Regions from separate parts of the Homo sapiens genome. Here region 1 is linked to region 2. Evidence: promoter capture Hi-C in 16 types of primary human blood cells and fetal thymus (Javierre and others, 2016). All regions are on one chromosome and are shown on one strand. Each heading gives the region's core, a stretch centred on a gene start or on the middle of the fragment in contact. The rest is flanking DNA. Distances are from core to core; before and after follow the strand shown.

Region 1 (3,935 bases), core at 347-2,846, 400 kb before region 2:
ACGGATCCCACCCCTCACTCCATGTCTACTGTTCCCTTGCCCAAAACTCACTTTCTGCTTTCTTTTTTCGGTTAACTTTATTCATCTTGGAGATCCCAGCTTGAGTATCCCTTCCCTAGCTAGCCTCACACCCTCCTCCCTGTTCTTTTTTTTTTCTTTTTTGAGACGGAGTCTCGCTCTGTCACCCAGGCTGGAGCGCAGTGGCCCGATCTCGGCCCACTGCAAGCTCTGCCTCCCAGGCTCATGCCATTCTCCTGCCTCAGCCTCCCAAGGAGCTGGGACTACAGGCACCTGCCACCACACCCAGCTAATTTTTTGTATTTTTAGTAGAGACGGGGTTTCATCGTGTTAGCCAGGATGGTCTCGATCTCCTGACCTCGTGATCCACCCGCCTCGGCTTCCCAAAGTGCTGAGATTATAGTCATGAGCCACCGCGCGTGGCCTGCTTTACTGTTGTTTAGATGTCTGTTTCTCTAGAGTTGTGAGCATTTCCATTGAAGAGCATGTCTCTGTTTGTAGTTATGCATTAGTGCTATCGTTTGGTTAACACCCATCACCCCAGTGAGACCATGAACTCCCTGAGGTACTGCCTAGACCAAGCCTGAGGCAGGTGCTCAGTCATCAGGTGTCTGTGTTGCATCTCTGGAAGGTTACCCATGTGCCTCTTAGATAATGACATTGTTCCTCGTTAATAAGAAACAGGAGTGGGGAAGAAGCTGTGGGTTACAAGTGGATCTTGGGTGGAAAGTGCTGTGGGAGGTCTCACAATAACTGCTCCCTTTCTTTTTTTTCTTTTTCTTTTCTTTTTTTTTTTTTTTTTAAGACGGAGTCTCGCTCTGTTGCCAGGCTGGCGTGTAGTGGAGTGATCTCGGCTCACTGCAACCTCCGCCTCCTGGGTTCAAGCGATTCTCTTTCCTCAGCCTCCTGAGTAGCTGGGACTACAGGCGTGTGCCACCACGCCCAGTTAATTTTTAGTAGAGACCAGGTTTCACCATGTTGGCCAGGATGGTCTCGATCTCTTGACGTCATGATCTGCCCGCCTCGGCCTCCCAAAGTGCTGGGATTACAGGCGTGAGCCACCGCGTCCTGCCTAACTTCTCCCTTTCTAATGTCCCTTGTAGGAGTCGAGGATGGCCAGACCGTGAGGATGCCTGTGGGAAAAAGGGAAATTTTCATTACGTTCAGGGTAGGTGCCCTGCCCCGCACAGCTTCTGTTGGGCCTTTCCTCTCTTCGGGTGGGTGTGGCTGAGGCTGCTCCCATGTAATCAAAGCTTCACAGGAACATGTCTCGCCATTCATGTTTCTGAGGGGCACAGTGGCCACCTAGATGTGGTTTTTAGCTGTTTGTTACCTTCAAGATTCTGTGCCTTGTGTGGAGAGAAGACAACTTCTTCAACATGCTAACAAGTTAGAAATACAGGTCACATAAAAATACAGGAAACATCTTGTGTTTTTATGATAAGATTGTTGATGAGGCAGTGAGTGTGAAAGTTACAATTTTACATACTGTATACAGGGGCAAACCTTGGTTTTCTGAGATGGTGGAAACATTAATGAAGACAATGCCTTCTACTGGCAATTGCCCTCCTATGTGTACACCTGAGAAAAACCCACACAAGCCTAGCAGGCGATAGGTACAAAGGGGTGCACAAGAGTCCTGTCCATGGTAGCAAGACACTGCCTTCCTCCAACAAGAGAATGGCTCAGTGAGCCGTGGTGGTCAGAGGCTGCTGCAGGGCAGTCGGAAGGAAAGAATGAGAGCTGAACTCAAGGGATGCTCCAGGCGTTGCAGGTACAGACAGCAGGGATGGAAGGCAGCTTGCCAGTGGCTGTAGGGCCTCAGAGACCATCTGTGTAAAGTTTTAAAACCTGTGAGATGGCATTATGTATTATTTAGGGACACGGAAATACATAGTAAGTAGAAGCTTGTAGGAATGATAAATGTTAAAGTCAGGGTTGTGGTTAGCTGAGGAGGGCAAGACTCACCGGTGTTTATGATGTTTTATTTTATTTTACTTTATTTTTTGAGGTGGGGTATTGCTTTGTTGCCTAGGATGAAATGCAGTGGGGCAGTCTTGGCTCACTGTAGCCTCAGACTCCCTGGGCTCAGGTGATCCTCCCACCTCAGCCTCCTGAGTAGCTGGGACTACAGGCACACGCCACCAGGCCCGGCTGACTTTTGTATCTTTAGTAAAGATGAGGTTTCACCATGTTGCCCAGGGTGGTCTCAAACCCCAGGGCTCAAATGATCCACCCACCTTGGCCTCCCAAAGTGCTGGGATTACAGGTATGAGCCACTGCGCCCGGCCTGTGATATTTTGTTACCTCCACTGGGTTGTGGGTATGACATGCTTGTTATATTATTTACTCTTCCCTTTTTTTTCTTTTTTTTTTCTGGAAAGAGAGTCTTGCTCTGTTGCCCAGTCTGGAGTGCAGTGGCATGATCTCAGCTCACTGCAACCTCCACCTCCCAGGTTCAAGCGATTCTCTTGCCTCAGCCTCCTGAGTAGCTGGGACTACAGGCATGCGCCACTACACCCAGGTAATTTTTGTATTTTTAGTAGAGATGGGGTTTCACCATGTTGGCAGGCTGGTCTCGAATTCCTGACCTCAGGTGATCCACCCACCTTAGCCTTCCAAAGTGCTGGGATTACAAGCGTGAGCCACCACGGCTGGCCTATACTTTCTAATAAAGTAAGATTTTTTTTTTTTTTTTTTTGAGGTGGAGTCTCGCTCTGTTGCTCAGGCTGGAGTGCAGTGGTGTGATCTCTGTTCAGTGCAAACTTCATCTCCCAGGTTCAAGTGGATCTTCTGCCTCAGCCTCCTGAGTAGCTGGGATTACAGGGGCCCGCCACCACACCTGGTTAATTTTTGTATTTTTAGTAGAGACAAGGTTTCACCATGTTGGTCAGTCTGGTCTCAAACTCCTGACCTCAGGTGATCCACTCACCTTGGCCTCCCAAAGTGCTGGGATTACAGGTGTGTGCCACTGTGCCTGGCTAAAGTAAGATTAAAAAAAAAAAATCAAAAGCCAGTTTTACATTTTTGTTTCCCTTCACGATTGAATGGCTTGATCTGAGACTGAGGAAATCCAGGCACGCTTCCATTTCGGCATTTCAAGTGTGTAGAACATTGCAGTGTTGAAATATGTAGAACATGTCATTCCTGGGCCTGGGATGGTGTCTCCTTGTTGGAAGGACAGTTCTTTCCCTCAACACTGCACTTTATGTATGGAAGGGGTGTGTAGTTTGTCAGGTCTGAGCTTGGGCCTGGCCAGGCATGCAGCTGGTGTTTAGTCTGCAGTGGACTTATCTTCACATGCATCTGTCATGTTTGGCCTTAGGTGCAGAAAAGCCCTGTGTTCCGGAGGGACGGCGCAGACATCCACTCCGACCTCTTTATTTCTATAGCTCAGGCTCTTCTTGGGGGTACAGCCAGAGCCCAGGGCCTGTACGAGACGATCAACGTGACGGTAAGAGGGTGTGAGAACACCTTTGTCACCCCTGTACTTTATTGCTCTTTTTCTGAAATGGAAAAGAACTGACCAGTGGCCTGGAACCCATGAGTGACCAGCATGTGGGGGGGCACTCACAGGGGAGGACATGAGGAATTTTAGGCTGCTCCTTGAGTGTGGACCACAAGCCACAGGCCTTGAGTCTATAATCGCATGGGAAGCAGTTCCTGGCTGGCATCACTCCCACACTGGTTAGCGGGGCCTGGGAACTGGGCGCATTCAGGACACAGAAGGGTTCACCCTGGGTTGTGCTCTCTGCACTTGCTTCTGTCCAGTGTCTGGCTCCAAGAGCAGAAGACTCGGGCGGTGCATATCCCTTTTGCCACAGTGATGGCTGCCTGTGTGCTGCCAGCACCTGTCCCCCACCTCTCTCTTGACCTGCCCCTCCAGCTCTTCCCACCTCCAGGCCACATCATTCTCT
Region 2 (3,746 bases), core at 161-2,660:
TTTTGTTACATTTAAGCATAAAGCTAAATTCAGACTAGAATTATTTCCGGGGTTAAAAAAGAAACTTCATAAACCTCCTCTAAATCCAGAAATAAGGGTTTAGAGAAGATTTAATGATCTGGTGTATACTGCATTGCCTTTTAAAAAATAACCGATACTAGGGGAAAAAAAATTCTAAGTGCCATCTGAATGAGCCCAATTTAACTCAATACTAGAAACTGAGAGGAATGCATCTTACATTCTCCACCTCTTCAAACCCAACTTCAGATCTCTTCCTTTAGTAGCAAGACACTCACCTTTCCTGGCCAAGGAGGATATCGGCCGAGTTTCCCCCTAGAGAAAACACAAAGAGTCAACACTTGCCCTGCAAAAGCCAGTCCATCTCCTTCAACCCACTCAATACGCAATTTATTTTCCTAAATCTCTGCTGGCATCCTCAAATGCCGAAACAAAAGCTTTCATAGCTGGGCCCAACACCCTCAGAAGTAAAATGCAAAATTGTATACTTATGTGCACAACGCATATCCATTCTTCTGTTGACAAGGAATACAGAACAACACAACTGTCAAAAGTCACTTGTCTAGAGCTTCTTAATGACGGGGGTGGGAGGACAGCTTCCTCTGTAAACACAGACTTTCCCTCCCTAAGTCTGGTTTAATTCAACAGGAGACCTGCCTGGCTTTGACAAATGCTAATGGAAGCCTTCCTCTGGGTGGAGAAACAAGCTACGCAGCTCGAGGGAGGCGGCGACAAAGTCTTGGTTCGGGCGGTTGTCTGGGACACAGAAGCAGACCGCGGGAGGCACCCAAGCGTGCACTGGTCACTGCCAAGCCATCGGTTGTAAAGGAGAAGTCCCCCCGCCGTTTCTTCGCGGGGCAACGCCAGCAGTCCGGTTTAGACAACCCCGGCTGAGCCGGCCGCACAGGTCGGCTGCATCGCAACCTGGGCTTTGACCGAATGGCACCGGCCAGATCTCGCAGGTCCGGTCCCCGGCGCTTCTGCTTTCTGGGAAGCCCCAACAAGACCCCGGGGACCGGTCGTCCGGGGAAGCCTCGCGGCACCGGCGGCTCCCTTCACGGGGGCCGCCAGTATCTGGGCCCCGAGTGCAGACCCCACCCGGCCGGCCTCGGGGATCAAAGCCGGTGCCCGACGTGGCCACCCTCGGCCTCGGTCCCCCGGGACTGGACTGCCCCTTCCGCCTGGCGCCGCTCGCAAGCGCCGGCACCTTCTCTTCCCCTCTCTCCGCGACCTGGAGCGCATAAAAAGGCAGCTCCAGGGCCGGCAGCGAACCCCGCGCCCAGGCGGGTAGCTCCCCGGCGCGTCTCGGTTGGCCCGGCCGCTCGGACTCACCACACCAAGTCGCCGAGCCGCAGACTCACAGCCGCCATCTTACCACCCAACCACCGCCGACGCACGGGCCGCCGGGAACAGCAAGTCGCCCCGGCGCCGCCCATTGGAGTGGGCCCGACCACGTGACGGGGGCCGGCTGTCACTGGCCACGCCGCTACTCTGACGTCACCGCGCCCGCCGGGGATCATTGGTCGACCGAGGGGCACGTGACGCGAGCGCCGCGGTCTCCGCGCGCCGGAGCGCAGAGACTCCCGGCTCCTTCCCCCTCCCTTCGGCTCGTGACAACGAAGCGCCCGCGGTCTGAGGCGGCGGCGGCGGCGACGGTGCGACCGGCTGAGCGCGAGAGGGAGCCGGCCTCGCGGCTCGCCCCGCCCCCGGGTCTTGGACTCCGCGCCCCTCCCCTCTCGGCGCTTCCGTTACGCCCGTTGGTCCGGCGCGGGCCCCGGGGCCATTCCCGAGCCCGAGGCGCTGGTCGGCCCCGTCGCAGCGCCAGTGAGCTACCCTGACGGAGCTCGGCGCGGCCTGGAACTCAGCCTCCGCCGGGTCTGGGCTCCCGCGCCCGGCAACTCTGCTTGGCCGCAGGCCGGGAGGCCCCGGTGTCCGCGCCCGTCCGCTCCCGCCGCCCGTGTTCTTTGGAGCGCTCCTCCCGACGGCCGCTTTCGGAGGCGCCGTCTGAGCGCGGGGTCCCGCGCCGCAAGTTCTCCTGGGGCGACCGGAGGCTGCTCCCCCGACCCCCTGGTGTCCCCGGAGTGGCTGCGCGGACGTCGAGTTGGCATTTCTTCGCTTCCTCCTGGGCCGGCGCGCGGCGCGGCACACCAGGCTCCCCTGGGCTCGGGGACCCGGCCATGGGCCGAGGCGCGGGCCGCCCGCCCGCTGGGAGCCACGGCTTAGCAGCCGACCGCTAGCTGCGCCGCCGCCCGGGGACCGGCATGAGGACCGCCGCGGGGGGACGTCTGCGGCCCGCGTCGGCGCTGGGGACAAAGGTGCGTGTCGTTGTCGGGTCCGGGCTCTCTCGTTAGCCTTGCCCTAGTTTTGCACTTTTGAAAAAGTTGTGACAACAGGAAGACAGATGCCGGGCGTAGTTTGGACACTTTAAAACTGAACCATGAACTGGGAAGTGTTAACTGCAGTTGAGCGCAGCGTCGGCCCAAACTTCAGCAGACCAGGTAGAATCACAATTTTGCAAAAGATCCCAGTCCCGATCACAGACTCCACAGTGTTAAGGATTGACTTAGACTTGGTGTCGGGCTCTTGTTGAGTCACTGCCAGCTGGCAAAGGTGGCGAGTCGACACGCATTTCCCCAAGGCATTGTGGTGGTTAGAGATTTCGGTTGCAAGTCGGTGTTTAGCGTACTGGGTCGTCCCGCAGCCTGATTTTTCTTGGGAGATCAGTTTCCCTGAAGTACCAAGAATTAGCTGCACGGACTGTCATTTACTGCGTGTGTATTTTTAAGACAAAGTGATCTTTAAAGCGTATTTAAGATTCCAGGGAATAATTTGATAAAAATTTAACATAAGTTCCTGTTTAAAAATTCTGAATTTGTGAGGAATTGAATGAGATTTTAATAACTTAAATAAAAACATGAATCTTGGCCGGGCAGGGTGGTATAAGCCTGTAATCCCAGCATTTTGGGATGCCGAGGCGGGTGGACCACCTGAGATCAGGAGTTCGAGACCAGCCTGGCCAACACGGTCAAACCCAGTACTCTACTAAAAATACAAAATTAGCCGGGCGTGGTGGCGCATGCCTGTAGTCCCAGCTACTTGGGAGGCTGAGGCAGGAGAATCGCTTAACCCGGGAAGCGGAGGTTGCCGTGAGCCGAGATTATGTCACTGCACTCCAGCTAGGCGACAGAGCGAGCGAGACTCGTCCCCCCGCCAAAAAGAAAAAAGAAAAAAAAATCTCAAATGAACATTGCACCAAAACCTAGAGGCATTCCCCTTAACATCAGAAACATGGTACATTTCTACCACTATTAGATAATAAGAATATATTGCCTAAAACCTGAAAGTTCTAGCCAGTGCAGTAAGACAGGAAACAAAAATAAGAAATGCAATTTTTGGAAAAGGGAAGACAGAATTCTCATTTCCGTGGATGATAGGTCTGCCTATTTTGAAAACAAAAACAAAAACCAAAAAACCCATTAAAATAAGAATTCAGGAAGGGTACTCATTATAAGTTGGAATGCACAATTTAGTTTTTCTGTTTCATCAATAACCAGTTTGAAAATACAATGTTTAGAAGGAGATATATATATATATAGTAAGAAAAAATTAAAAATTGCTGAGGATAACCAAGGGACAAGGAAGGCTAGTATTTTCTCAGTAACACCAACTGAGGTTTTTAAAGGGGGATCTTTGTTTTTTTCTTTTTTTTGTTTGAGACGGAGTTTCAC

The links. Contacts are between HindIII fragments. The CHiCAGO score rates a contact against its expected background, and 5 or more counts as called.
Region 1: a contact is called between a fragment that was not itself captured here and the fragment with the promoter of GLYR1 in region 2, in 4 of 17 cell types (erythroblasts, M2 macrophages, M1 macrophages and 1 more). The highest score is 9.0, in erythroblasts.

What each region holds. Positions count from the first base shown.
Region 1 is chr16:4,443,543-4,447,477 of GRCh38, forward strand. It overlaps DNAJA3 (DnaJ heat shock protein family (Hsp40) member A3), which reads left to right. Exons shown (of 12, transcript NM_005147.6): 7 at 1,122-1,186; 8 at 3,344-3,472. Among named protein-coding and RNA genes, the nearest start is that of DNAJA3, 20 kb to the left of the region's middle. The HindIII fragment of the contact is 654 bases long and covers 1,270-1,923 here.
Region 2 is chr16:4,845,878-4,849,623 of GRCh38, forward strand. GLYR1 (glyoxylate reductase 1 homolog) reads right to left here and starts at 1,411. Exons shown (of 16, transcript NM_032569.4): 1 at 1,351-1,411; 2 at 297-333. The coding sequence starts at 1,388. UBN1 (ubinuclein 1) reads left to right here and starts at 1,604. Exons shown (of 18, transcript NM_001079514.3): 1 at 1,604-2,333. RefSeq lists enhancers at 855-914, 1,215-1,274, 1,570-2,412 and silencers at 1,465-2,184, 2,195-2,284. The HindIII fragment of the contact is 6,120 bases long and covers 454-3,746 here.